Linked DNA regions of Homo sapiens: regions 1, 3 and 4 are each linked to region 2. The links are contacts of gene promoters, found by promoter capture Hi-C in blood cells and fetal thymus (Javierre and others, 2016). All regions are on one chromosome and are shown on one strand. The core of a region is centred on a gene start or on the middle of the fragment in contact, and the rest is flanking DNA. Distances in the headings are between cores, read along the strand shown.

Region 1 (5,276 bases), core at 1,567-4,066, 680 kb after region 2:
TGGGATTACAGGTGTGAGCCACTGTGCCTGGCCAAAGGTGAAAATTTTTATAAAGCAATAAAGTGGCCTGTACGTGAGGAGTTATATTCGTAGCTCACAGCCTTATCTCAAACTTTCCTCCCAGCCCTGCTCCTCCCAGAAATAAATGCCCTGAAGGCCAGGGGTTGTGCCTGACTTCCCAGGCTGGCCCCTCCCTGGTAATGCGCTAGGTCCTCACACCTGCACCTGGGACTGGTGGCACTTGGGAAGGGAGAGCCACAGGTAGGCCTGCCACGGCACTTATGGGGGCTCCTTCTCCAGTGTGGAGCCAAGAGAACAGGAATCTGCTCCCCTGGGCTCAGACATCAGAGAGGCTGGATCTCCGAGGCATGGGGAATTAGTACCTCCAGGGCAAGCCCTTCCTTCTATGGATGGGGAACGGGGAACTGACTCTGAGTTACCATCCCCCAGACCAAAGCCCATCCCACTAGCCTTCTGGTCTCTTCCCAACACCTGAGCTGGAAGGAGTTTTTGTCTTCTGAACCAGATATCCACTCTGAGTAGACGAGGCTTTTATAGAAAGTGACAGATCTAGGAGGCTGTGGGCACCTTTCTGGGACAGCTGTGTGTACTTTGCACTAGAGGTAGGGGACCTTACAAAATTATATCCTTCAATTCAAATCACCCCCCAGGGAGATGATAGCATGACAGCAAGCCAGCTGTGGCTGGAACCACAAGAAGGCAAATAAATGGGTTTTCTTGCACATTTACCTGCCCCAGGGAGAGTGGGACAAAGCAATTGGCTACATTAACAGTTTCTTTGGGTAAAAACAATGTTTCTGTTTCTCATTTGTGTTTTCGAGCTTGCATAAGTACCTACTGTATGTCTGGTCTGGATCAGTGATACATAATTCTGGGCTCTAAGAGCTAAAAGTCTGTAAGTGGAAACCAATCATGGTATATATATCATGTTAAATAGAAGTATATGAGCAGGTTCTATGGGAACACAGAAGGGGAAACAAGAAAACTCCTGGCGGGGTGGGAGGTGTGATCATTAATTCAGGTTCTGAGGGATGAAAAGAAGTTTCTCTTGGGTCGCACAGGTGATGGGGGGGACATTGTTACCCAAGAGCACAGCCAGCACTCCTAATCTCACCCTTCTAAGGCAGCCTCATGCCTACAAAGGCAGGCAGAGAAGAGCCTAGTGTTCAGGGAGAGTTGGCAGGGGTGGGTGTGCATGAGAGGAGGCTGCAGAGGCCCCATCCTAGGAGAGCCAGGCCAAGCGGGTTCTGCTGTGGGCTGTGGGGAGGCTTTGGAGGACTGTCCACCCAAGGACATTTTAAGGGAAGGGGGGCTATTTCAGATGGAGGAGAATACAAACCCAAGAGGCCATCAGAAGCTGGAGCGAGTAGAAGCAGGATTGGAAATGGGGGACAGCTTTAAGAGTTGGTGAGCTGGGATTTCAAATGTAACTTAGAGGGAGAGCCAGGGAAAGGGGGGATTTTATGCCTTTTCTCTACCCCGTGCCTCACCCTTTGCCTGACACGCACACCTGGTCCATGGAGGAAGGTAGCTGGTGGGTGGATTGGGCACCTAAGCTGGTAGCACTGGGCCCAGGAAGTGGCAGAGACACTGAGTATGTAGCAGATGTTTTCCACTCTCCAGCGATGCCCATCCGAGGGGAGAGAGAATGCAAGCGCAAATAGGACAGGCCACCTCCGGGTGGCTGCAAAACAACGCTCCCCAGACACGGAGCCATCTGCAAGAGCAGCCCTGGCTGAGCGCTGCACACAGCTTGGCCAATGGTGGGTTTGCAGGGGCAATGAGACTGCAGATCGGTGAGGACGAAGGCCCCTGTGCACACACACTCTACCCCTGTCCCCAACCGTGTGCCCATCCCCTGCCTTCTTGCCCTTCCTTCTCTTCCAGACTCACTAGGGACCCATCTCTCCTTTCCTTGAGAACTTGCTCCAGGTTTTGCCAACTTTATAATACCCAGGAAGGCCCTTTCAATAGACTGCTGGACATCTGGGAGGAGTTGAAGCCAGTGGCACTTTGCTAGTGGGGACACTGGCACAGGTCTCTTTGAGAGTCTGATAAAAGTATAATCTATGCAGAAAAAGCAATGCCCCTCTGCCCACAAACACGGAATTCTGCATAAGATCTCAAGGGCCTTGAAGCCCACCTCCAAGCAAAGTGGGAGAGGGATGACAATGTTTGAGGTTGTGGTGGGTCTGGAGAGCCTGGCCCGAGGAGAGGCTGTGCCCTTTTTTTTTTTCTCCCTAGGGAGATTTTTGAAGAGGGGCTCTTCAGGTCAGGAGGAAGCCACAGCCCCCAACCCAGTCCCCACTTTGAGGCTTGAGGCAGGGGAGGGACAGCCTGGGAACCGGTCTGCCAACCAGTTTAACCGGGACTGGTTTCGACTCAGGGAGTTCAAAGGAAGCTGGGGTGCACCCCGTCCTACCCAGCCTGCCAATGGAAGCAGCAGCCCTTAACTCTTTCCTGGTTGTGCCCTGGGCAACATCCAGGTGGTGGTCCATGCTGGAGAGGGGTCTGCGCCTCCTCAGAAGATGAAATGGGTGGGGTGACCCTGGCTATAGCTGGGAAGTGCAACCAGACACCCAAGAGTGGGGAAACTGAGCGAGAGCCTCCTGTGCTCCCTGACCCCAGATCTCCCTTGGGATTCCCTCCTCCTGCGTGGCGGTCCCTGGAGAACCCTGGCTTCTGGGTGGATGCAGGGGCGCTGGGATTGGATTTCTGGCATGATGAATATTCATCAGCTTGAGCCGGCCTCTGCTTCTGTTTACTTAGCCGGGAGGGGCTGGGTTTCAGGTTCACCTTGACTCCAGGAGCTGCAGCAGAGCAGGTAACAGCTCTTGCACCTGTTTCTCTTGCACCTGACGTGCAGCTGCTCCTACCCACCTCTCCTGGCTGAGCCTTGCCTGATACAGCAGCCCGGAGGCACCACTTGCTTCCCGAGTCTCACCCTCCCAGGCAGCTCCTACACTCAACTGCTTCTCTAGGAAAGGTCTCACCTCCAGCCTGGAGCAGTCGGGATTACAGGTACAGGCAGAGGGCTGGTGGGTGGGGAAACCAAGGCATAGACCCCAGTCAGAGCACCTGGTTCTGCCTCCAGGGCTGACAAGCCCAGCAGGAAAGAGGAACCCAGGCCTCTAACCTGGTCTCCACTCAAGACTCATCCCACTGGCCTCTTGGAGTCAATCCAGGCCTCCAACAGAGCTCCTGCTGAGTAGTTTTCTGTTAACCCTTGCTGAACTGGAGCCCACCCTTCTGACCCCCCAGTCTGGAGCATTTTTCCAGCTGTCTGGTAGGAACATCTCCCCATTCCTATCCAGGGTACCCCTGTCTCATCCTGCAGGCCCCCTAAGTGCCATTGGGGCCCTGCAGAGGGATGGGGGAGGGAGTTCTGGGGTTTTGTCTTACAACATATTAGCTGACTTGCTTCCCCTATCTGTCCCCCTGCCCCTCCACCTCTGCCCCAGTCAATGGTTAACTTGACCCAGCTCAGGAGGGGCCTGGCTCAGTCTGGGCAAAGCCCTTCAGAGCAGCTCACAGAACCCAGCTGGTATGGAGGGGCCTCTCCTGGGACACCCATGTGCATGCTATAGCGCTGGCCACCAAAGACAGGGGGTGGCAGGCTGTCCCATGAGGCCTTTCATGGCCCCAAAGCTGTGCAAACAGCAGAGGTGAAGCTGGCATCCTCAGGGGCTGATTTCCATCATCCCTGGATTGCAAGGCCCCAGGGCAAGGGCCCAGCCCTTAGCTCGGCCAGCTCAGGAACCTGCACGAGCTAACTGCAGGGCCCACCATGTGTCACTAAATGCTGGGTCTGTTTGAAGTCCCAAGCACCTGCCCCCACTCCCCCAACCCCTTTCAGCCCTCTGTGGTGAGGCACAGGCAGGCGGTTGTAGATATCTTGTTCTTTGCAACTTTGAGAAACTGGGAAGTTTGGATATCACATCACCTTTTTTGTTTGCTTGTTTTTAAAGCAAATCAGATTTTACACTATCTTTTATGATGACTATTTACAGATCCTACAGCTGGGTTATTTTGTAAAACAAAGAATAGTCGGCTAATTTTTCCATTTTGCAAACTCAGATTTCCATAAGTCAGGCTTGCTAATGGGGCAAACACCTGCTTACTGGTCCCCACATGTCCTCCTGGGCAGAAGAGACAGGAAGGCCTGGCAAAAAGGGTATTCTCTTTTTTTGTTGTTGTTGTTTTTTGAGAAAAGAGTCTCACTGTGTCGCCCAGGCTGGAATGCAGTGGCATGATCTCAGCTCACTGCAACCTCTGCCTCCTGGGTTCAAGGGATTCTCGTGCCTCAGCCTCCCGAGTAGCTGGGACTACAGGCATATGACACAACATCCGCCTAATTTTTTGTGTTTTTGTGTTTTTAGTAGAGATGGGGTTCCCCCATGTTGGTCAGGCTGGTCTTGAACTCCTGGCCTCAAGCAATCCTCCTGCCTCAGCCTCCCAAAGTGCTGGGATTATAGTTTGAGCCACTGCACCTGGCCTCTGGCAGAGTATTCTAGAGAGACCAGAGTACAAGGCTAGGATGCAAGGGCACCAGAGTTGATGCCTTGGTGGAGGCCCCAGGGCAGGGCACAAGGGCTGTTCCCATCTCTACAGTTTGCTGAGAAGTTCCTCGTGATCTGTGGCTCCCTTTATGCCAAGGAGAGTTAAGCCCCAGGTTTGCCAACTTGAAATACCTGTTAAAACAGGTGAATTTTAATGGCACAGGCAGAAGCCCTTTTCTCTCTGGAGCTAGAAAATCTGGTGGTTATGATAGTCTCAGGAGCTGGATCTTCTGTTTTTCCATTCCCCAAGTTCCTTGGCAGCCCCAAATGGGCAGTGGTGGGGCTGTGGGCCTCATTCCAGACAAGGCAGTGACTCGGGCACCCACAGACCAAGCAAGTGCCCTGTTCCTCCTTCTCTGCTCTCCCCCACCTCCTTCCAGAAACCCATTCTGGAACACTAAGTTCTGTACAAGGCTGTGCTAAGCCCAGGTGGGGCAAGCTGCCAAAACAAACCTCTCAGGCTGTCCCTAGGTGTGCTCACCTCTCCAGGGTGCCCTGGAAGTATTTATGGAGCCCCTCTCACTGCTCCTTCACTTTCTGAGCGGGAGCTGCACAAGATCTCCCCTCAGCTTCTCTTGCTACTTGAGCCCAGCTAAAGGGACAGAGCTGGCAATGTGGGAGCTGCTTCCCAGACAGAGAGGTGGGAAGGAATCCACCGGCTGTGTGCTCTGAGGGAGGGGGTGGGGAGCAGGAGAC
Region 2 (5,482 bases), core at 1,748-4,247:
TATGACAGCAACTGTGCCTCTCGGAGTAGTCAAGCACCGTTTAAAGATTGAGGATTTATACAGACATGCGAAAGAGATGTGAAATTATGTGCTCCCAACTGTGCTCAATAATAAAGGCAGTAGAAGGGAAATTCATATTTTCATCTATATGCCTCCCCCCTCGCAAAGTAGAACATTGCATGGTATATTTCACATAGTCCACATACCAGAGGCGGAATGTGCAACTGACTGCCCAGGACTGTGCTTTCCAGTACAAATGGAAGCACAAAGATGCCTAATGGAGAAGAGTTAAGTGAAAGTTCTCTTTTCTCAGTGCACTTCCCTAACCCTTTGAGGAAGCAAGTCTGGGGGGCCTTTCCTGATAGGATCTTCCCTCCAAATCCCTTTTGGAGCTGGAGCTCCTCTCTTTCCCTAAAGTCTGGCGCACTTGGCTCCAAGTCCCCATTTCTCCAGTCCAGAAGGGATGAAGCCTCCTCCACCCCAAACATATAGCCTTTGGCTCGCTGGGAGGAGAATTGCTCACCTTCTGCGGTGGTTTAGAACACCACCCTACACAGGGATACACATACACAGTGCCCCAGAGGAAATGCAAAGAAAGGTTTTGCTAGTCCAAGCAAGGTGTTGTGGGAGACCTCAGAGACCCTTAGAAAGAGCCTCACTCCCCACACTGCAACTTGAAAGACCCAGGACATCCCTCCCACCCCCAGGACAGACAGGGTTCTCACCAGCTGGGAACGCACAGAGCCCGTGACAACAGGAGGATCTGTTGGGCTGGGAACTTCACATCCCACCCACCCTGCCTCCAACTTCTTTTTTTTTCTGGCCAGATTAAAAGTCAAGCTTAAAGTGCTGTTGGGTTAGAGAGTTTCATTGTTTTAGTCTATTGGTTTCTCTCCCTCATTTTCTTCTCCCTCATCTCCCTTTTACTCCCAGGTTTTGCCCATTTTTTTTCTCTCTCTCCACACAGAAAATCTGTGAATTTTCTGGGCTTGAACGGAAGGAATGAGGAGGGAAAGGAGGGAATATTTGACCTATCCAGGCAGCACTCAGAGCTGTAATTGACACCAAGTCATCCTAGTAGACCTTGTCCTCACAGGCTTAGAGGATATTTGATTCCAGAATCCCCCACCAGCACCCCAAGATCCAGTGGTACCTCCTTCCTCCTTGGGGCTTCTATAGTTTTCAAAAATGGGAGAAATCAAAAATGCCATCATTATTCCAGTGACCGGGTGTGGAGGGAGTCTGCAGTTTGGCCAGAGGCCTGGTCTCAGAGAAAGGAGTCCTGAGGGCTGGGGGGTTGGGGCAAGGCCTAGGGCCAACTTGGTTCTGACCTTGCCTGCCAGTAGAGAATCTTGGGCTCTTCACCAAGTAAAGGCAAGATCAAGGGACTGGAGGTCTGAGTCCCTCTCTTGCCTAACTGCCCCAAGGGCCCCAGAAACTACTCTGGGCCAAAAATCAGTAATAGTTGAAAGAAAGAAACAAATACTGAAAACACCCAGATTTATAATCTGCTTAGACACCCAAACTCATCCTTAAAGCAGTAAATAAAATTTATCTCCTTGACTGCCTTGCAACTTTCTACTCAGTTTGGCAATGTGTAGATGGGGTCAGCTTGAGTTTCAGAGCTTGGGGGTCCAGCACTAAATGTCTAGAGAGCTAGATCTGGGGCCTCTCACCCCCTTTCCTCATATACCTCCTCTTGCTTCCTTCCCCTCCCAGGGCTTCTCAGAAAGTGACAGCTGACTTCCTTTTAGAACTGTGAAATCCCACAATTTCAGAGGATTTCAAATTCCTTGAACTTCAGGTTGAGAGCTATTTGGATTAATCAGAGAAGTTTGTGTCTGGAAAATGATGCCAGATTTAGCCAGAAAACTGAAAGACCAAATGCTTTACTTTTTTTTTCCTTTGTCTGATCTCAGTGCTTATCAGGTCAACCTTCACCTTTAAAAACACCCTGGTGGCAGTATTTCTTTGCCATCACTGTCTGTAAAGCAAAGGGCAAGCATCTCAGGGCTTTTAGTTGGGCCGGGAATTCAAATGTCTCCTTTCTCAAGAAGATGCCAAAGTGGCCACCCTCAGCCCACTTTCCGTCCTTACCTCCTCTGCCCTTTCCCCAGCTGTAGTTATAGGAATAATGGCCTTTAACTTGCAGAGATCATTAAGGCCAAAGCCCTCACTCCTTCCCATCTCTCCTCTTGGGGCCGTCTGAGTCGCTTCCTCCACGACCCTCCTCTTTTGAAGCACTCCCTAGTACTGTTAAAGGCCGAATTTGGGCTGGAGCGAAGATGGGGGCTCAGTCCAAAATAACCTAGATATTAAGTAATAGTAATGATTTTTTTAAAAGGTAACTATGAACTCTCAAGCCTCGACCACCCAGTAAAGTTCCTCCTTAAATTGTTGCCGGCCCTGGGTGCAGACACGCAAGGACTGGCCAGAACGCGAGAAACTTCTTCAAGGAGAGAGAAGTCAGGGCCCAAATTCCTCATGCTTTAAAGCAGTATAAGAGGAGAGAGTCCAAATTTTTACTCGTTAAACCTCCTCTTACCTCTTCCTCAGGTCTGTTCACTCCTTGGTCCAGGGACCGGAGCTCCTGGGCTTCGAGGTGAACCAGAGGGAACGTGGCTCCCCGCAGCAACCTTTTTGCTTCAGGGCTCCTCCTGGGGGCTGAGTGGTCCCCTTTGCTTTGCTATTCCCGCTGCGGCTCCTGGGGGGACAGCTCCGTGGGACCAGGTCTCTCAGGGGGTGGAGGGTCGCCGAAGTCGTGACCAGGAGTTGGAGACCGCTGCGTCCCTCCGCTGCGGACCTGCCTGGGACTGCGTGGAATGGACCAAGTCCTCCGTCTAGGATTCCCTAGTGCTCGACGGCGCGCACTCCGCAGTGCTCCGCTGGAGATCTGCACCTGTGTCCCGGGGCTGGGCGCAGAGTGAAGATCTCCGTGCACGCTGCTGACCGGCTCGGCGACTGCCTCCCTGCTGTGAGCAGGAGAACAGGAAGTCTGCCCGACAGGGAGGTGGCCGGGCGGGAGCGGCAGAGTCGGCGTTGAGAGGAGGGTCAGCTGCACCTCGGGATTCCGCGCGCCTTCAACTCCCTCTTGCGGACAGCCCAGCCGCGGGTTGGCGCCGCAGTGATGGAACCTGGGGAGGGCCTAGCTTAGAGTCCCAGCAGTCCAGAGGAGGGGACCAGAGCAGAGGATTAGGAACGGGGCTTTCATATCCAGCCTAGGCGCCCAGAAGCGGCACTTAAGGGGCGAAGGGAGGCCGCAATTACAAAGGTGCGCCCTCCGACGCCTCAACGTCAAGGGCCTGTAGATTCACAACCTCCTCTGTCGGGGATGGGGGAAGATGAGGTGGGATAGGGAGGCTATGTCCAGCCACCAGCGCAGGGAGTGGCTCTAAACGCTGACCCAACGCCTCGCCCCAAGCGGGATCTTGGCGCGCAGATAGACCGAGCCCGTGGTGGGGCGCCATGCCGGGCTCCCTCGCCCTTACCGAGTGAGCATCTTCTTCCCAATTTGCTGCTCAGAGAGGGAGTGGGTCCTAGTCTCTGGATCTCAGCGCTCACGACTACCTCGCTGCTCCTAACGAACGGTTCATCTGCTCTCTCCTGGCCGCCTGCGCCAGCGCCGCTCACCCACTTTTCCAGCCCTGGATCTCCTCTCCCCGGATGCGTCCTTCCTTCCCACAATTAACAAATGATCTAGCGAAACCCCGCCAGGTCCCCGGCAGAGAAGCACCTCCATCCGCCCTAACCAACCAATTAATCAGATCATTAAGGAGCCTGAGGAGTTGTAATTGGGTGGTTTGGGACGAGGGGGCGCTGAGGAGGTCATTAACCTCCCCGTAAAGATGGGGAACGGAGACGCGCCTGGCCGCCTCTGCCGCCCCTGCCGCCCCTGCCGCCCCTGTGGGCTCTTCTTAGCACGCGGGTTTTGGCCACTCCACCTGCCTGCTGCGCTCCAGTTCCCGCCTCCAGTCCAGCTATTTCACTTCTCTCTTTGTCATTCTCCGTCTTTTCTCTGGCAACCGTCCAGGGCCCCTTTCTTTGTGCCTACTTCTGTCTACCTGTCCAGCTGCCTCTTGCACCCTTTCTGTGGCCCAGCGGCCAAGAAAACTCAAAGGTCATGGCTGTTGGCCCCCGCTGATGATCTCTGGGCTCCCGGGTCTCAGACAATTCCTCAGGGCTGGCTAGAAATGGTGGGAGCTGGAGATTTGGACACTATACCCATTCCCCAAGAGAAGGGCATTTGCAAAGGGGAAGTGTTTCCTGAAACGTTCAATTCTCTTTCGGTATGAGATAGCTTTGGACAAGGTGACAAATGGCGGAAGGTCCAGGCCCCAGTGGATAAAAGCTCCATATTAATTTAATTAGAGACACAGAGACCTTGCATACTCCTTGTCTGCACAGGCAAATATGGAGGAGGTAGTGATTGGGTGTTGTGGCCTGACTGGTCTCAGTCTAAGAGTCCCCAGCACCTGTGACCTGGTTCCTGGTGTTCCAAGAAGTCCAGGTGACAGTATCTGTTCAACCTTGTGGAACAATAAATTGTTTGTCCTTTTAATTTGTCTTGTCAGATCCCCAAGTATATTACAATGCCTCCCTCTGCATTACATTTTTGGTTGGTTGTGTAAGAATGGTGGATGAGAGGTTCTTAACATTTTGGGGCCACTCCCTGATATGATAATTTAAATTTTGATGAACAATATTGATTCCCCTCTACCCAGAAAAAAAATGTGCGTATGTAGTACTCACCAAATCCCACAATTTCAGAGAGTTTCAGACTCCTCAGACACCAAGTTAACAACTACAATTTGGATAGATCAAAGGAGCTGGTGTCTGGGAAATGCCGAGGCCAAATATAGTCAGTTTACGTAGGTCTTCACCCTTTCTCTTGGCTGACATCTCCATTTTGCCAGGCCAGCCTTCACCTGTAAAAACACTCCGGTGGCAGTGTCCTCTCCCCACCATTACCTGTAGGGTCTGGGCTCCCAGTGGGAGTCAGTCTTTCCTTCCCAGCAGCTGGGAGCCTGAGAACGTGGGAAGAGCTTTGCTGGGGAAAGCTGATCTTAGACTGGCCAGCAGTTGGACCAGCAATGGAAGGAAATCAGGCTTAAGCAGCTTCCCAGGGACTAAAAACCATACCAGAACTCCTGGAAGGGAAGACTATCTGGAAACAGCCTCCTAACTAAAGCTGCCTATAAGTCAAGCAAATGGGGACTGGGCAATAGAATGTTCCTTTGTGTCCCTTATTGACTCACTTATTCCATTTCCTCAGGGACCCAGCTCTACTTGGGGCTGATTTAGCCAAGGTTAGAGGCTGGGGAATACCAAATGCTGAACTTAAAGGGGAAGGATTTGCTCCCTAATATTTTAGTAATCTTGTTTGTAAGAGATAAACAGCATGTGACCCCTGACTATCCTGGGGGACCTCCTAATTACGCCCAGCCTCTTGTGTTGTGGCCTGTTTAGACACAGAGTGTAAAGA
Region 3 (4,988 bases), core at 1,124-3,623, 560 kb after region 2:
GGCATGATGGCTTACACATGTAATCCCAGCACTTTGGGAGGCTGAGGCGGGAGGATCACTGGAGTCCAGGAGTTCAAGAACAGCCTGGGTGACATAGTGAAACCCTGTCTTTAAAAAATAAATAAATAAATAAAAATTAGGCCAGGTGCAGTGGCTCATTCCTGTAATCCCAGCACTTTGGGAGGCTGAGGCAGGCAGATCACCTGAGGTTGGGAGTTCAAGACCAGCCTGACCAACATGGAGAAACTCTGTCTCTACTAAAGATACAAAATTAGCTGGGCATGGTGGTGCATGCCAATAATCCCAGCTACTTGGGAGGCTGAGGCAGGAGAATCGCTTGAACCTGGGAAGCCGAGGTGGTGGTGAGCTGAGATCGCGTTGTTGCACTCCAGCCTGGGTGACAAGAGCGAAATTCCGTCTCAAAAAAAAAAAAAAAAGATAATTGTGTCATTAAAAAAAAATAAAATTACCTGGCACAGTGGCTTACGCCTGTAATCCCAGCACTTTGGGAGGCTGAGGTGGGCGGATTACTTGAGGTCAAGCGTTTGAGACCAGCCTGGCCAACATGGTGAAACCACGTCTTTACTAAAAATACAAAAAAATTAGCCAGGAGTGGTGGTGTGCATCTGTAGTCCCAGCTACTCGGGAGGCTAAGGAAGAGGATCATTTGAACCTGGGAGGTGGAGGTTGCAGTGAACTGATATTGCGTCACTGCACTCCAGCCTGGGCGACAGAGACTCCATCTCAAAAAAATAAATAAAATTATAGATCATTTTTCCTTTTTTTTTTTTTTTTTTTTTTTTGAGATGGAGTCTCGCTCTGTCCCCCAGGCTGGAGTGCAGTGGCATGATCTCGGCTCACTGCAAGCTCCGCTACCCGAGTTCACGCCATTCTCCTGCCTCAGCCTCCCGAGTGGCTGGGATTACAGGTGCCCGCCATCACACCCAGCTAATTTTTTGTATTTTTAGTAGAGATGGGGTTTCACCGTGTTAGCCAGGATGGGCTCGATCTCCTGACCTCGTGATCTGCCCACCTCAGCCTCCCAAAGTGCTGGGATTACAGGTGTGAGCCACCACGCCCAGCCTCTTTATCATTTTTTTAAAGACAGTCTTGCTTCCTCACCCAGGCTGGAGTGCAGTGGCACAATCACAGCTCACAGCAGCCTCAACCTCCTGTGCTTAAGCGATCCTCCCAGCACACCCAGCTGATTATTTTTTGTAGAGATGGGGTCTCACTACGTTGCCCAGGCTGGTCTCAAACTCCTGGGCTCAAGCAGTCCTTCTGCCTAGGCCTTCCAAAGTGCTGGAATTACAGGTGTGTGCTGCCGAGCCCTGACCTCTCTACTGATTTTGACAAATAGCTTTCTTGAAACCCTAGAGAACTAATTGTAAACAAAAAAACACGTTGGGAAGGCTGGCTGGGAATCTCCAGTAATACAGTATCTCTGGATGTAGATGCTCTGGGATGAGCCAGTAAAGAAAGCTCAGGAAGAAGCGGGGATCTGTTTTCTATATTCTTCTTATTTGAGTTGCTCTTAAGACAGTACTTAAAAAGTAAGGAAAGGGCCAGGCTCAGTGGCTTAGGCCTGTAATCCCAGCACTTTGGGAGGCCGAGGCAGGCAGATCACCTGAGGTCAGGAGTTCGAGACCAGCCTGGCCAACATGGTGAAATCTTGTCTCTACTAAGAGTATTAAAAAAATTAGCTGGGCATGGTGGTGAGCGCCTGTAATCCTAGCTCTTTGAGAGGCTGAGACAGGAGAATCGCTTGAACTCAGGAGGTGAAGGTTGCAGTGAGCTGAGAGTGCTCCATTGCACTCCAGCCTGGGCGACAAGAGCGAAACTCTGTCTCAAAAAATAAAAGTGAGTAAAGATCGAAGTCATGAGAATGCTTTACTTTAGATTTCCCCATTTGGGCGCTTTCTTTACCTAACAATTATGCCATTCTATGACTGTTCCTCTCTGAGGCCATGCTAATTAATGATAAAGGGAGGATAAGCTTGCAGTAGGTAGAGATCAGTTAGAAGCTATGCTGACCCTTTCGGCTCATAGCAGAAGGATCAGGTGGATAATAGTCAGTGCTGTTTTATTTTTTGGCCAGATCTCATGCCAGTAATCCCAGCACTTTGGGAGGTCAAGGCAGGTGGATCGCTTGAGCCCAGGGGTTCAAGACCAGCATTGGCAACATGGCAAAAACCCTTCTCTACCGAAAATACAAAAATTAGGCAGTCTCATAACCTGGTCTCTAAATAAGCAAATAAATAGATTAAACTTTTCAAAAAGAAATGCTATTTATTTTTCTAAGACAAATTTTATATATATATATATATATATATATATATATATATATATATATTTTTTTTTTTTTTTTTTTTTTTTTTTTTTTTTGAGATGGAGTCTCGCTCTGTCACCAGGCTGGAGTGCAGTGGCGCGATCTCGGCTCACTGCAACCTCCGCCTCCCGGGTTCAAGCAATTCTCCTGCCTCAGCCTCCCGAGTAGCTGGCACTACAGGCGAGCGCCACCATACCCAGCTAATTTTTATACTTTTAGTAGAGATGGGGTTTCGCCATATTGGCCAAGCTGGTCTCGAACTCCTGACCTTGTGATCTGCCTGCCTCAGTCTCCCAAAGTGCTGGGATTACAGGCGTGAACCACCGCACCCAGCCTTGTAGATGGACTCTAAGTGCATTCTGTCTATACATGCCAGTTTTACAGTGTTTAGAAAACTTAATGATTACACTAAGTAAGCTTCCTTTCCTAAGGATGCTAGGAATAACCAGTTTAACCTCAAATTGGTATTATTTTAAACTCAAGCGGAGACGTAACTCTTCCTTGTCTTGGATTACCTGCCATCCAGGTAATTCTTTGGCCAGTTTTGTTGATCAATTTTGTTTCATTGATACAGTGCCATCTACTGACAAAAATTGGTAATCATAAGGCTTTAAGTCTGTCAGAAGTCAAAGAGTTGGGTCCGGGCACGGTAGCTCATGCCTGTTAATTCCAGAGTTTTGGGAAACCAAAACGGGCAGATCACTTGAGGTCAGGAGTTCGAGACCAGCCTGGCCAACATGCTGAAACCCCATCTCTACTAAATATACAAAAATCAACTGGGCCTGGTGGCAGGTGCCTGTAGTCCTAGCTACTCAGGAGGCTGAGGCATGAGAATCACTTGAACCCTAGAGGCGTAGGTGAGCCGAGATAGCACCATTGCACTGCAGCCTGGGCGACAGAGGGAGACTGTGTCCCCCTCCCCCAAAAAAGTCAAATTTGGATGAAGGACTAAATAAAATAGATTTATAAGGGACTAAAATTTCAACACTGGAAAAACCCTTAGATGTTACCTAGCTTGATGATGTATTTTATAAAGGAGTAAACTCAGATTCTATTATCTTTGATAACTACAGTTCTGTTTTCCCCACACTTGTTTTCCAAATTTTTACAGGGTTCCAGTTTAGAGAATTTCATGATCATTCTGGCATTTTTATGACTCTTCCTTAGTTTTTAGAAATAAATTGGAGGCCAGGTGTGATGGCTTATGTCTGTAATCCCAGTAGGAGGCTGAGGTGGGAGGATCACTTGAGCCTGGGAGTTTGAAACAAGCCTGGGCAACATATTGAGAACTTGTCTCTACTAAAAATTTAAAAAATTAGCCAGGCATGGTGGCGCACACCTGTGGTTCCAGCTACTCAGGAGACTGAGGCAGCGGGATCACTTGAGCCCAGGAGGTCAAAGCTGCAATGAGCCATAATTACTTCACTGCATTCCATCCTAGGTGATAGAGTGAGACACTGTCTCAAAAAAGAAAAAAAGTTGTAAAATAAACTAAATACAATAAGTTAACAAGAAATTTGTGAATCGTAAGTTCAATTCAGAAAAGACTGCATAAAGAACAAGAGAACATGGCTGGGCACAGTGGCTCATGCCTGTAATCCCAGCACTTTGGGAGGCCATGGCGGGTGGATCACTTGAGGTCAGGAGTTCGAGACCAGCTTGGCCAACATGGCGAATCCCTGTCTCTACTAAAAAAACAAAAACTAGCTGGGCATGGTGGCACACACCTGTAGTCCCAGCTACTCAGGAGGCTGAGGCAAAAGAATCACTTGAACCCAGGTGGCGGAGGTTGCAGTGAGCCAAGACTGTGCCACTGCACTCCAGCCCGGCTGGAGTGAGACTCCATCTCAAAGAGGGGGAGGTGCGGGGCCGGGGCTGGAGCTGGGTTCGGTGGCTCACGCCTGTAATCCCAGCACTTTGGGAGGCCAGCACGGGTGAATCACGAAGTCACGAGTTTGAGACCAGCCTGGCAGCTTGACCAACGTTGGTGAAACCCTGTCTCTGCTAAAAATACAAAAATTAGCCGGGCGTGGTAGCTCACACCTGTAGTCCCAGCTACTCAGGAGGCTGAGACAGGAGAATCACTTGAACCCGGGAGGCAGAGGTTGCAGTGAGCCGAGATTGTGCCACTGCACTCCAGCCTGGGCTGGAGTGAGACTCCGTCTCAAAAAAAAAAAAAAAAAAAAAAGTCCAGGCACGGTGGCTCACGCTTGTAATCCCAGCACTTTGGAAAGCCAAGGCAGGCAAATCACGAGGTCAGGAGTTGAAGACCAGCCTGGCCAACGTGGTTAAACCCCGTCTCTTCTAAAAATATAGAAATTAGCCAGGCGTAATGGCGGGCACCTGTAAAACCAACTACTCGGGAGGTGGAGGCAGGAGAATCGCTTGAACCCGGGAGGCAGAGGTTGCAGTAAATTGAGATCACACCATTGCACTCCAGCCCAGCTCACAGAGTTGAGACTCCGTCTCAAAAAGACAAAAACAGACTGGGCATGGTGGCTCAGCTCTGTAATCCCAGCACTTTGGGAGGCCGAGGCAGGCGGATCATGAGGTCAGGAGATCGAGACCATCCTGGCTAACATGGTGAAACCCCGTCTCTACTAAAAATACAAAAAATTAGCTGGGCGTGGTGGCGGGCGCCGGTAGTCACAGCTACTCA
Region 4 (4,924 bases), core at 2,337-4,836, 630 kb after region 2:
TGCGCCTCTGGTCCCAGCTACTCAGAGGCTGAGGCAGGAGAATCGCTTGAACCCGGGAGATGGAAGTTGCAGTGAGCCAAGATCGCACCACTGCACTCCAGCCCTGGGTGACAGAGCGAGACTCCATCTCAAACAAACAAACAAACAAAACTTCTGGGACCCAAAGTCCCCCAAAATCTCAGTGTTCTCCAGATGGCAGCAAGAAGAAGTAGCTCTCACAGGTTTGCCCAGAAGATGGTGCTGTAAGACAAGCCCCTCTTTCATCCTTAGCCTGGCCGGGATCAGTGACGGGACTATGAAAAGGCTTGCAGGAACCAGACCTAGAGGGCATCTCTACTCTCTATTGGGCAGGAGTTATCTCACAGTGCTGAGCATTGCAGTCCATTCCTAGATACTCCCTAGACCACAGAGGAGAACCTTGGGGGTTCCCACATCAGAGCTGTGAGCACCTCCATGGGAACACGAAGGTGAGAGACCCTGGGCACCTGGGACAGCAATTGTCCTGAGAAAACAGGGCCTCTGATCAAGAAACACTGTCAAGAAATACAGACCTGGCTGGGCATGGTGTCTCGCTCCTGTAATCCCAGCACTTTGGGAGGCCGAGGTGGGCAGATCACTTTAGGTCAGGAGTTCGAGACCAACATGGCCAACATGGTGAAACCCTGTTTCTACTAAAAATACAAAAATTAGCTGGGCATGGTGACACATGCCTGTAATCCCAGCTACTCGGGAGGGTGAGGCAGGAGAATTGCTTGAACCCAAGAGATGGAGGTTGCAGTGAGCCGAGACTGCGCCACTGCACTACAGCCTGGGTGATGGAGTGAGACTCTGTCTCAAACAAACAAACAGAAAACAAATACAGACCTTTTCCTCCAACTCTGGAGATTTGGACCCATTCCCCAAGGTAGCTGGGAGGTTGAGGAAGGGGTCTGAGGGGCTTGGGCACTGACTGAAGTTTATACTCTAAGGTAGAAAAAAAAAAGTGGATCTTTCTGGGAGAGCAAGCTAGAGGCCTTCAGATTAGGAAAGTGAAACTCAAAGGTTGACTTACCCAATGTCACACAGCTAACAAGGGACAGAACTGAGACAAGAAAGAGGGTTTCCTGGAACCCTCTTACCTCTTCCTCTTTCTGCCCTGTGTTTTCTGCAGATCATGAGAATATAACGTTTATAAATAGAATTCCCTTGACAAGGAGTGCCTTCCTGGGCAGTAAGAAAAAATAGCAGGGCTCTTGACTCAAAACCCCAATGCACATTTTTCTTTGCATGCTTTTTTTTTTTTTAACAGTCTCACTCTATCACCCAGGCTAGTGTACAGTGGCACAGTCTCTGCTCACTGCAACCTCCACCTCCCAGGTTCAAGTAATTCTCCTGCCTCAGCCTCTTGAGTAGCTGGGATTACAGGCACCTGCCACCATGCCTGGTTAATTTTTGTATTTTTAGTAGAGACGGGGTTTCACCATGTTGCCCAGGCTGGTCTCGAACTCCTGAGCTCAAGCAATCTGCCCACCTCGGCCTCCCAAAGTGCTGGGAGCCACCATGGCTGGCTCCAATAGCGTTTTCTAATTTTTATTTTATTTATTTATTTATTTATTTATTTATTTATTTATTTATTTATTGAGACAGAATCTTGCTCTGTCGCCCAGGCTGGAGTAAGTGGCGCCATCCTGACTCACTGCTGCATGTGCCTCCTGGGTTCAAGTGATTCTCGTGCTTCAACCTCCCAAGTAGCTGGGACTAGAGGCACACAACACCATGCCCAGCTAATTTTTGTATTTTTAGTAGAGACAGGGTTTCACCATATTGGCCAGGCTAGTCTCAAACTCCTGACCTCAAGTGATCCTCCCGCCTTGGCCTCCCAAAGTGCTGGGATTACCGACATAAGCCACCACGCCCAGCACGTCTGTTTTTTAAATAATGAAATTAATAAGTGAGTCCCATCAGCTGCACTTCTTTTCTGAGGATAATTTATATACAAGACACAGAAAAGCTTCTTGCACAATGTTCTTTTAATAGGATTTATGTAAACTCACATTTGTCAGGATCCGTAAAAGTATTCTATTTCTTTCACACATGTAATTTTTTTGTACCTCTATCTCAGTGAAGGAGGCAGGCGTTGTCATTCCCACTTGTGAGGTGATTGAGGATGCTCTCGGGTGCTGGGAGCAGAAGCAATGCGGCCTGAACCCAGGTATGGATTTCATTTTGAAGAAAGGTCTCCTTGTAGGGCACTATCCTGGACCCAGTGGGCCTGCCCTTCCTATTTATTTCTTAGTGAAACCAGAAAGTTTGCTGGGGCCAGTATGATGGAGCATCGTGACTGACAAATGGCTGGGATTAGTCTAATGGGTAGGCAGCTGTATATGGAGGAAGGCGATGAGGGATCAGACCATTTCCCCAGATTCCAGTGGAAACTTTGCAGGCAGTAGCTAAATGAGTCAGAGAAGATAAGAAGACTGGAGTACCTTGCAGAACACTTCCCATACCCTCCCACCTCCAGCCCCAAGGAGGATTAGGATGCAGGGAGTCTGCAGATGAAACAGTTGTTTACAAAGGCTGGAGAAGCATGCCAGGAAACTAGTCCAGGGGCAGTTTCCAGGGCCTGAGATTGATACTACTCCATCTTGAAAACTGAAAAAAAAAAAAAAAAAAAAAAAAAAAAAAGTGTGACTCTTTAGTTCTGTACTCCCTTTAGTTCTGGGAGTGCATTTGGAGTTTCCTTTAAATTCTATGTGGATACAGGATGCTGAAGGAGGAGAATCACTTGAACCCCAGAGTCAGAGGTTGCAGTGAGATGAGATGATGCCACTGCTCTCCAGCCTGGGCGACAGAGTAAGACTGTTTCAAAAATAAAACAAAAGGCCAGGCGTGGTGGCTCACGCCTATAATCCCAGCACTTTGTGACTCCATCTCAAAAAAAAAATAATAAATAAATAAAATAAAATAAATTGTATGTGGATAAATTGAGGAGAGCTAAGGTGCAACACATGAGAAAGAGACAAGGGGTGGGGGTGGGCACAGTGGCTCACGCCTGTAATCCCACCACTTTGGGAGGCCAAGGCAGGTGGATCACCTGCGGTCAGGAGTTCACCAGCCTGGCCAACATGGTGAAACCTTGTCTCTACTAAAAATACAAAAATTAGCTAGGCATGGTGGCACACGCCTGTAGTCCCAGCTACTCCGGAGGCGGAGGCAGGATTGTTGCTTGAGCCCATGAGGCAGAGGTTGTAGCGAGCCGAGATCACGCCACTACACTCCAGCCTGGGCGACACAGTGAAACTCCAACTCAAAAAGAAAAAAAAAAGGGGGCGGGCGTGGGTGCTGGGAAGGCAAGAAGGAAATAGCAGAGGAGAGACAAGGGAACTCCTGGCTTGGGAAGGCTCTTGCCTGTCCCACCTCATGCAAGCATAAGCACTCCTGCCAAGACGGGGGCCCTCCGGAGGATGTCCAACTTAAAGCTCAGATCCTGGGCAGCAGCAATGGGGAGGGGATTGGGGTATCCCAGGGCAGATGGCCTTAAGGGACCTATTTGTAGAGGCAGAGGCCCAGAGGCTGTCATATGCAAGCTGCTTAGGGTCACAAGAGAAATCCGGAGCTTCCCTGATGACCATCTTTCTTCTCCTCCTCTTTCTGACTCTCTTCTTCCTTCCACTCTCCCTAAACCTGCTGAATCCCTTAGGCAGCTGGGATCAACATAAGCTAGAAACTGATGCGTATACAAGGGAAATCGGGAAGCCTAGAAACAGCAGAACCTGGGAGGGGTACCTGTGTACAGGGCAAATGAAGGGAGCCTGAAAACAGCTGAATCTGGGGAGATGGAACTGCCTAGTGAGAGAGCAAGGGGCTTCTGGAAACTGCTGAATCCAGGGAGGCCAATTTGTATACCGGGGAAATATGGGGGAACCTAGAAACAGCAGGATCTGGGGAGACAGTCGTGTACAGGGGGCAGACAGAGGGAGTAGCCTGAAAACAGTTGAATCTGGGGAGGAAGATTCGTGTGCAGAGGGAACAAGGGGAGACTGGAAACAGCACAATCTGGGGAGATAGGATAGTGTACAGTAGAAGCTAGGGTGGCCTGGAAACTGGGGCTCTCAGGGGATGAATCTGCTTTAAATTGCACGGGGGGGTGAGGGAGCCTGGGGAATCTGATGTGGCAGGCGCGAGCAGGGACACGGGCAAGCACAGGGGTGGAGTCAGGGTGCTGGTTGCATGGAAGGGGAACGCAATGGAACTCCCTGCCTTGTAGGTTTGAGTTAGACCCCTTGGCAGCCTCTTCTTGCAGACAGGGCAGGGTAAGGGAGTAGCTCTCCAATGGGGAGCCAGGATTTCACACGGCAAGAAGAGAAGGGCCTTTGTGTGCAGTTGCTGCCCTGGTCCTAAAATGAGCAAAGCCTGGAATTCCCTAGGGGAAACAGCCCAGGAGTTGGAGTGGGAGAGGATGAGGAGGTTGAAGGAGCTTCGGTCCCCTTGCCTGCCTTCTTCCCAACCCCTCTCTGACAGGGATAGGCCTCTTTCTCCCTTTCTACCGACCAGCCTGACCTCTCCCTTCAGCAGTTCCCTTCTGAGTGACAGACAGACAAAGACAGAGCTGTAGACCATTGACTGAAGGAGGCCCCACAAAAGTTCTCTCCCAACCCACCATCCCCCCATACCCTCCCCAGAGGCCCTGAGCCAGCCAGGGCCAACAGGAGCTGTCACTCTAGTGGAGCTGCCTTCAGGTAGGTGACAGGCCTTCAGGAGGCAGGGTGACTAGGGGCTGGGAAAGGCCTGAGATTTTTGGGATTCTGTCTGTGCCTCTTGGAAACCAGAGTTTCCCAGCCGGTTGCCTCTGAGAGAGGACTTGGAAACCAGAGTTTCCCAGCTGGTTGCCTCTGAGAGAGGAAAGAGGGCAGAACAGTGGCCACTATTGCAGAAATAAAAACCT

Evidence for each region. The method cuts DNA at HindIII sites, captures the fragments that hold promoters and counts their contacts. A CHiCAGO score of 5 or more calls a contact.
Region 1: the fragment with the promoter of PRR15L here is called in contact with the fragment with the promoter of LINC02086 in region 2 in 1 of 17 cell types (neutrophils); the score reaches 5.5 in neutrophils.
Region 3: a contact is called between a fragment that was not itself captured here and the fragment with the promoter of LINC02086 in region 2, in 1 of 17 cell types (total CD4 T cells). The highest score is 6.4, in total CD4 T cells.
Region 4: a contact is called between a fragment that was not itself captured here and the fragment with the promoter of LINC02086 in region 2, in 6 of 17 cell types (naive CD4 T cells, neutrophils, total CD4 T cells and 3 more). The highest score is 8.5, in naive CD4 T cells.

Annotation. Positions count from the first base shown.
Region 1 is chr17:47,955,423-47,960,698 of GRCh38, reverse strand. PRR15L (proline rich 15 like) reads left to right here and starts at 2,816. Exons shown (of 2, transcript NM_024320.4): 1 at 2,816-3,042. RefSeq lists enhancers at 2,257-3,202, 3,203-4,148. The HindIII fragment of the contact is 8,015 bases long and covers 1-5,276 here.
Region 2 is chr17:48,640,142-48,645,623 of GRCh38, reverse strand. It overlaps LINC02086 (long intergenic non-protein coding RNA 2086), which reads right to left and starts at 2,997. Exons shown (of 8, transcript NR_189645.1): 1 at 1-2,997. All of the region lies in intron 1 of LINC03057 (long intergenic non-protein coding RNA 3057), which reads left to right. RefSeq lists enhancers at 2,403-3,399, 3,400-4,398. The HindIII fragment of the contact is 12,737 bases long and covers 843-5,482 here.
Region 3 is chr17:48,078,317-48,083,304 of GRCh38, reverse strand. The region is part of intron 1 of CBX1 (chromobox 1); the gene reads left to right. Among named protein-coding and RNA genes, the nearest start is that of CBX1, 21 kb to the left of the region's middle. The HindIII fragment of the contact is 750 bases long and covers 1,999-2,748 here.
Region 4 is chr17:48,013,841-48,018,764 of GRCh38, reverse strand. No RefSeq gene overlaps it. Among named protein-coding and RNA genes, the nearest start is that of MIR10226, 17 kb to the left of the region's middle. RefSeq lists enhancers at 962-1,061, 2,739-3,238, 3,239-3,740. The HindIII fragment of the contact is 3,187 bases long and covers 1,993-4,924 here.